Regions from separate parts of the Homo sapiens genome. Here region 2 is linked to region 1. Evidence: promoter capture Hi-C in 16 types of primary human blood cells and fetal thymus (Javierre and others, 2016). All regions are on one chromosome and are shown on one strand. The core of a region is centred on a gene start or on the middle of the fragment in contact, and the rest is flanking DNA. Distances in the headings are between cores, read along the strand shown.

Region 1 (3,466 bases), core at 528-3,027:
AAATTGAAGGGTCCAAGAAGCAATCTTTTCCCTATGAAATTGTAGTAACATAACTCATCTCTGCCCTCTTAACATGGGAGGTGACAAGTGTGTTGAGAACTCTCTTCAAGCCAGTTGCAGTGGGTGTACCTGTAGTTCTAGCTACTCTGGATGCTGAGGTGGGAGGATCACCTGTCCAGCCTGGGCAACATAGCAAGACCCCCCCAACTCAAAAATAAATAATTGAGAAAGCTTTCTTTTGAAGTAATCTTCTGATGAGATGACTTAATCCCTGATTGTTACCAGTCCAGCATCCACAGTCTTGGAAGTGACCTAGGATTTGGTAACTCGTTTCCTTTGCCATGTGAGAATGAACTCACTTGATAAGGGTTCCTGGGAACCATTTTGAAGGCACATAACCTGAACAGCTCACTAAAAAATACCTGTTTCTGTTTGCTCTAGAACCTCCCATTCCAACAACATTCTATCCTTTCTGCCACTACATGCTTGCCACTCTGCCCTGCATTTTTTTTAATTTTTATTTTTTTTTATAGACAGAGTCTGTATATCTTGCCCAGACTGGAATGCAGTAGCTATTCATAGGTGTGATGACAGCACACTACAGCCTGGAACTCCTGGGCTCAAGTGATCCTCCTGCCTTGGCTTACATCTTGCTTTTTCTTCTTTTTCTGAGACAAGATGTCACTCTGTCGCCCAGGCTGGAGTGCAATGGCGCAATCACTGCTCACTGCAGCCTCCTCCTCCTGGGCTCAAGTGATCTTCCCACCTCCACCTCCCGAACAGCCGGGACTACAGGGCGTACGCCACCACGCCTGGGCAATTTTTGTATTTTTTTGTAGAGACGAAGTCTCGCTATGTTGCCCAGGCTGTTCTCGAAATCCTGGGCTCAAGCGATCCTCCTGCCTCGGCCTCCCAAAGTGCTAGGATTAGAGGCGTGAGCCACTGCGCCTCGCCACACCCTGCATTTTTAACACCTCACTGGAGCGCTCATCCTCTCCACCTGCTCCGCTATTCAGGAGCGGCTCTGCACCGTAGGCCATTTCCCACGACCAGCTGCTGACAACCATATCATCAAACTGCTCTTGTTCTCGCACCCCTTAAATGTCCAGCCATAATTTCTCAGGGAAAAAAATTTATACATTTTCAACAAATAGGATTCATTCTCAAATAGTCACATACAACACTCACTCTGGAAGAAACTCCCTTTCACATGCCGGTGTCTCCCCTGCCCAGCCACTTCCCAGCTTTGAGGTTGGGCTCATCTAGGCTGGAAAACCAAGGGACTGGGCCGTGGTTTTCCCACTTCCACTTCCCAGTTTGCTTTAGTTTATTTTCCCCCCTCTTTGGATTCCTGAGGCTAAGATGAAGAGAGTCACTTGAGCCAACTTTTTTTCAGTGTTTGGGGGGAAAAGAATGTGGTTTAAAATAGGGGCTATTTGTGACCCAGACCTCTCTCCTTAAAGCCCTCTACATCTATTCCCATCCCGCCTCCTCTCTCCTAACACCTGAAAGATGCATGAATATAAAGTCATATATCATGAACTTTATTCCAAATGAGATTGCTAACTTACTGTGCAACTTTAGGAAAGCCCCTTAACCTGTCTGGGGCTCAGTTTTCACACAAATCCAGAGATCCTTGCAGAGAAAGGTGCAGTTCTCGTTCAGGCAGCAGGAGGCGCTGTCTCTGGAGGCTTAGATTCATTCCCCGCCCTCCGCCCGCTCCCGCCCGCCTCTGGTGCGCAGGCGCGGCTTCGCGGATTGGCCGCGCGCGGGGGCCGTCATTCGGTGGCGGGTCCCGGCCGCGGGGCTGGCGGGCTGAGGGGAGAAAAGATGGCGGCGGCGGCGGCAGCTGGTGCGGCCTCCGGGCTGCCGGGTCCAGTGGCACAAGGATTAAAGGAAGCGTTAGTGGATACGCTCACCGGGATCCTATCCCCAGTACAGGAGGTGCGGGCGGCTGCTGAAGAACAGATTAAGGTGCTGGAGGTGACGGAGGGTGAGTGAGGCGGGACCGTCACGAGGATGGCTCAGCCGCACAATCCGCTGACCGCAGCTCCGTACCGGCTGGGGACATGGGGAGCCTGAGCCAGTTGGAGATGTGGGCGCCGAGAAGTGGAGCAGGAAGCGAGAGATTGATGTCGCTGGTGGTTGTGAAAGTCCGAGAGAGGAGAGGCGCGCCTGAAGGATAGGGTCGGGGGAGGTGGAGCCTGGGAGTGGGGGAGGGAGGGTGGAGACTTGAAAAGATAGATGGAGCCTAGAATCTGCAGGGGACGGAGATGGAGCTAGACTTGGTGCTGTTGGAGGAAGTAGCGCGGTCGGGGAAATATTTTTTGAGTCCAGGACCAAAGTCTTTCGCTGTTCTCTTCACCAGCTGGATTGTACTGGGATAAGAGTAGGGGGAGCTATTAGTAGGAGTGGTGAAGGGTAGGGCCTCGAAAAGGCGGCTATCAAAGCTTAATAGATGTCATCAAACAAGTTTCTGCCTCTGAGTTATAAACCTAGCTAGTTGTTTGTACTCTTCGTGTTTTCCCAGAAATTAAATGCATATGCGATTGCTTCACTGTCCTGACCATACTTAACGTTTATTTTAAAAATAATTTGCCCTTATTAAATACCTTTGTGCATTTCTGTTTGGAGGAACTGATCATCCTTTGTTTTTGATTCTTTGTCTCCGTCCTCTATTGTGTGCTTTAAAGTGATGGAGAAGAAAATAAACCATTGGTTCGAGATTTTCTATCAATTTCCTGCCGCGTGAGCCTTTCACCGGGTCCAGTGTAGCTACCACAAAGAACAATTTAATCCAGAAACAGGAGGAGAAATCTTCTTGGTCTTTGTGTAAGAAATATATCTGGTCAGAGCTTCACTGGAACTCCAAATCCTCAGAATCTCCCAACTCAGGAATATTTCCACCACCACTTAAATACTTCATCAGAGATATGGGAAATTGTCCCATCACACACCCATCATATTCAAAACCTTCAGTTAGCTCTCCTACTGGACGTATTTCTATTGAAAAGAATTTAGAACAAATCTCTCTTAAATTTAGTTTACATTCTTTCACAGTATGAAAGAGCTGTTGAAAACAAATTTTCTTCTGTTGGAAATATGTTAAGATTTGGGATCTAACAGGCTAAGGACCATTTTGAAGGCCCACTTGTAATTGTCATTGTTTTATAAAATATCAGATCTATACAGGAGAAACCACTGGTTAGGAGAAAGCTGTTTGAGAACCATGTATAAACTAATCTAAAGGAATTTTTAGCGGCTTCTAAATAAAATTCGTTTATGCACATTAATGTCTGTCCCCCTTGAGTATGAGGAAGGAAGAGTGACAAAGCAAAGGAACCTCATCACATTCAAGTTGTCACCTGAATAAAACTTGAGAGTCTGGTGCAAATTCATCTTAACTAAACCTTCCCTGAGTGGTACCCAGTGCTCCTGGTGCTCCAAATGCATGTCTGGCACCTTT
Region 2 (3,466 bases), core at 420-2,919, 230 kb before region 1:
CCCCAGTCCTTAGTACTGATAACCCAGGGAATCTCAGGCCGAGCTAAGGTGTCTGCCTCTGCTGCAAAGCCTGCTTATTTGGGTTCAATTTTGTCAGCTCTTCTGTGGGCCCTGACAGTGTGCTAGGCACAAGGATGTGTAAGGGTAGTAGTAGGCACCTCACCCTGACTCATGCTTAGAACTGAAGACTGCTTTGCTTCTCTTCCTTCATTCAACAAATCCCTTCCTTTCAACTAAAGCTTTCTCAATAAGCCAGATCTTCAGAGGCTCCAGCCAGCTCTCTCTTTCCCATTCTCTGGCTCAGTGGCTATCCTTTCTTCAAGTGCTTCCTGGAAGCCTCCTCCCTCCCCCAAGTGCCAAGGGGCGCCGAGTCTGTTTCTCACCTCTGCTCACCAGGTCCCTCCTCTCCAGGCCATACCAGGTTTCTGATCAATCCGAGGCAGGGACTGGGGGCATAGTGGGGCCAGGGTAGGGGCAGGCAGGCACAGCAGTGTGCACTGTCACAGCAAGTGGGCTGGGTCTGGGAATTTCAGTTGGGTTTAGAAGCTGGCCTCCAACATGGCCACTGTCTTCCAGCCAAGGGAAGGGAGAAGAAATTCCATCTCTCTGCCTCCTGGCCGAGTTGAAAGCAGATTTTCCTGTGCTGTCTCAGTCATCACTTACGTGTCCCCTGCAACCAAGGTGCCCTTCTTCTGCCTCTTCCACCAAGCCATGTCCTTCCTGATGCAGCATTCTCCTCCTCTAGGATGCTCATTAACTAACTGTGGTTAACTTCGCTTCGGGACTGCGTCCTCTTCAGTTATGTGCATCACTCATACCAGAGATGCTGTGGAGTCATGGTTTAGAATATCAGCTCTGGAGCCAGCAGCCTGGGCTTAAATCTTAGCGACCCCACGTCTTGATTGTGTGATTAAGGCAAGCGCCTTAACCTCACTGCATCTCAGTTTTCTCACCATAAAATGATAACAACAACATTATCTACCCAATGGGGTTTTGTGAAAATGAAATGAGTTGATACACATAAAATGCTGGAAGCAATGCCTGGCATGTGGTACGTGTCCATCAGTGTTTGCTGTTATTATTTCTCTCTTGAGCCTCTGTCCACCTGTAGACCCCATCTCTCCCATCAGGCTGGGAAATTGCCAAGGGCACCTTCGTGTATCTCTCATTAGTCCAAGGGCTTCCTGATGACAGGGACTCTCTTCCCTTCTTTGGGGTACCCTAACCCCAGCCCTGAGGTTAGCTCAAGTTAGCCCAGGGTTTTGGATGCACTGAAGAGGGAGCTTGGTCAAGCCAGTCCTGTTACTGGCTGGGCTCATGTGAAAGAACCACAGCAGCTCATGGGCTGGACTTTCAAAGAACTCCTCAGGACTTTTTGTTTGTTTGTTTGTTTATGGATCAGGAAAGGGCAGACACTGTCACTCTCTGGCTCTGTCTTTGGCCCAGACTTAGTGCCTGGTCATGAGATTCCCATTTCCATCATTCTCCAGTTACTTCCTGTGGCCACTTATTCCACCATATTTATTGAACATCTACTATATTTACAGGACTGCACTAGGTGTGGGAGATAGAGTGGTGAACGAAATATGGTCCCTGCCCCAACAGAGTTTCCAGCCCAATGGGAAGATGTTGGACAAGCAGGGCGGGTTGTTTTTTTAGTTTGTTTGTTTTTTGTTTGTTTGTTTGTTTGTTTGTTTCTGAGATGGAGTTTTGCTCTTGTTGCCCAGGCTGGAGTGCAATGGCGAAATCTCGGCTCACTGCAACCTCCGCCTCCTGGGTTCAAACAATTCTCCTGCCTCAGCCTCCTGAGTAGCTAAGATCACAGGTGCCCACCACCACACCCAGCTAATTTTTGTATTTTTAGTAGAGATGGAGTTTCATCATGTTGGCCAGGCTGGTCTCAAACTCCTAACCTCAAGTGATCCTCCTGCCTCGGCCTCCCAAAGTGCTGGGATTACAGACGTGAGCCACCGTGCCTGGCCTGGCAGGGTGGGTTTTAACAAGGGAGAAGCAACGAGAACATTGGTCTAGTCTAGGAGGTTAGGGAAATGGTCACTGAGGAAGCGATCTTGTGATGAGAAGTTAAGGACGAAGAGGAGAATCAGTGAAGGGGGTTGAGGAGAGGGAGCATTCTAGGTCTTCTGCAGTCCCATCTGGCTTCCCAGCCTTCACCCAGCTAAGGCACCCAGCATTTCTCAGGATTCACACACATTGGCCTTGGCCAAATACCCCCCTACACTCTCCTTCTTCCCCTCCGGCCTCACTCTGAAGACAGCTAAGCTGTCTTCCTGGGGGCTTCCTGGTCAAGGCTCACTGTGCAAACTACAGACTATCACATAATCTCCTAACATGCCCCTGGGGCCCGCTGGTTAAAGCCTGAGAAGAGGATCTGCAAAGATCCCTTCCCACAGGCTGCAGAGCCCGTGCTCCACCGGGCTGAGGGCCAAGCTGGGAGTCCATAAGGACCCCTTCCCACAGGCTGCAGAGCCCCTGCTCCACCAGGCTGAGGGCCAAGCTGGGAGGACCTGAGGCACAGGAGCCGGGTTTCCTCCCTCACACTCCTGCGGAAGCTCAGCCCCCATGCTCCACCTGCTTCCTGTTCCGCGGGGAAGATTTCCTGGTCTGTTTCCTTGGCAGCTGTGTCTCATTTCCTCCTGCTGTGCCCGTGATGTCCTGGCCCAGTGTGACGAGGTGAGGCAGGCCCCTCCCCTGTGAGGTGTGCCATCTCCTGCCCAACTCCATTGCCCCAGATTCCAGAGAGCAGAGTCGGGGAAGTAGGCCCCACCCACCTTGGCCAGGGAGCAAGGGGAGGGAGTTCAGCTGCAGGATGCCTGGGCGTCAAGATGTCGTCAATGCCTCCAATATATACTGAGTGTCTACTACGTGCCAGGCATGATACCAGGCGCCAGGTGGCCAAAGCTAAGTGTTCTTCAAGAAGGCAGCTTTGGAGATGAGCCAGGTATACCTGGTGACTGAGCAGCCAACGCTATGTACACAGTGCTCTGGCAGCTCAGGGCCACTTACAGAAGGTCAGAGAGGCCTTCCTGGAAGGGATGACGTCTGAGCTGAGCTTGGAGGATGAATAGAAATTAGCTAAGGATAAGCTTGAAACCTCGTGGTGTGTGGATAAATGATAAACTATTCAGTAAAACTTGAAGATAAAGAATGAGGCAGGGCAGAGAGATGAGTCTGGGAAATAGGGAGGAATCAAGTGCTGGAGGATCTTAGAGGACCCCCAAGAAACTTGATTTTACCCCGTAGGAGGGTCGTTATCAGAACCACAATTCGATCAGGTCTTTTTGGCCTCAGGGTGGAAATGGTGTGAGTGGGCCATGCGGCGTGGGGCCGGGAGAACAAAGTGTGTGTCCTGGTGAGGAATCGGAACTGCCTGAGTTAGGGTGGTAAGACCAGAGAGCAAGGGCCAAGAAAACTGGCAGGACCACAGGACCAACTGGATGTGCTTCGC

What was found. Contacts are between HindIII fragments. The CHiCAGO score rates a contact against its expected background, and 5 or more counts as called.
Region 2: a contact is called between a fragment that was not itself captured here and the fragment with the promoter of IPO9 in region 1, in 2 of 17 cell types (endothelial precursors and M1 macrophages). The highest score is 5.3, in endothelial precursors.

The regions. Positions count from the first base shown.
Region 1 is chr1:201,827,380-201,830,845 of GRCh38, forward strand. It overlaps IPO9 (importin 9), which reads left to right and starts at 1,778. Exons shown (of 24, transcript NM_018085.5): 1 at 1,778-1,993. The coding sequence starts at 1,831. IPO9-AS1 (IPO9 antisense RNA 1) reads right to left here and starts at 2,180. Exons shown (of 3, transcript NR_046696.1): 1 at 1,572-2,180. RefSeq lists enhancers at 377-891, 892-1,405, 1,562-1,856, 1,868-2,077 and a silencer at 1,578-1,817. The HindIII fragment of the contact is 2,219 bases long and covers 230-2,448 here.
Region 2 is chr1:201,595,144-201,598,609 of GRCh38, forward strand. All of the region lies in intron 2 of NAV1 (neuron navigator 1), which reads left to right. Among named protein-coding and RNA genes, the nearest start is that of NAV1, 58 kb to the left of the region's middle. The HindIII fragment of the contact is 2,865 bases long and covers 238-3,102 here.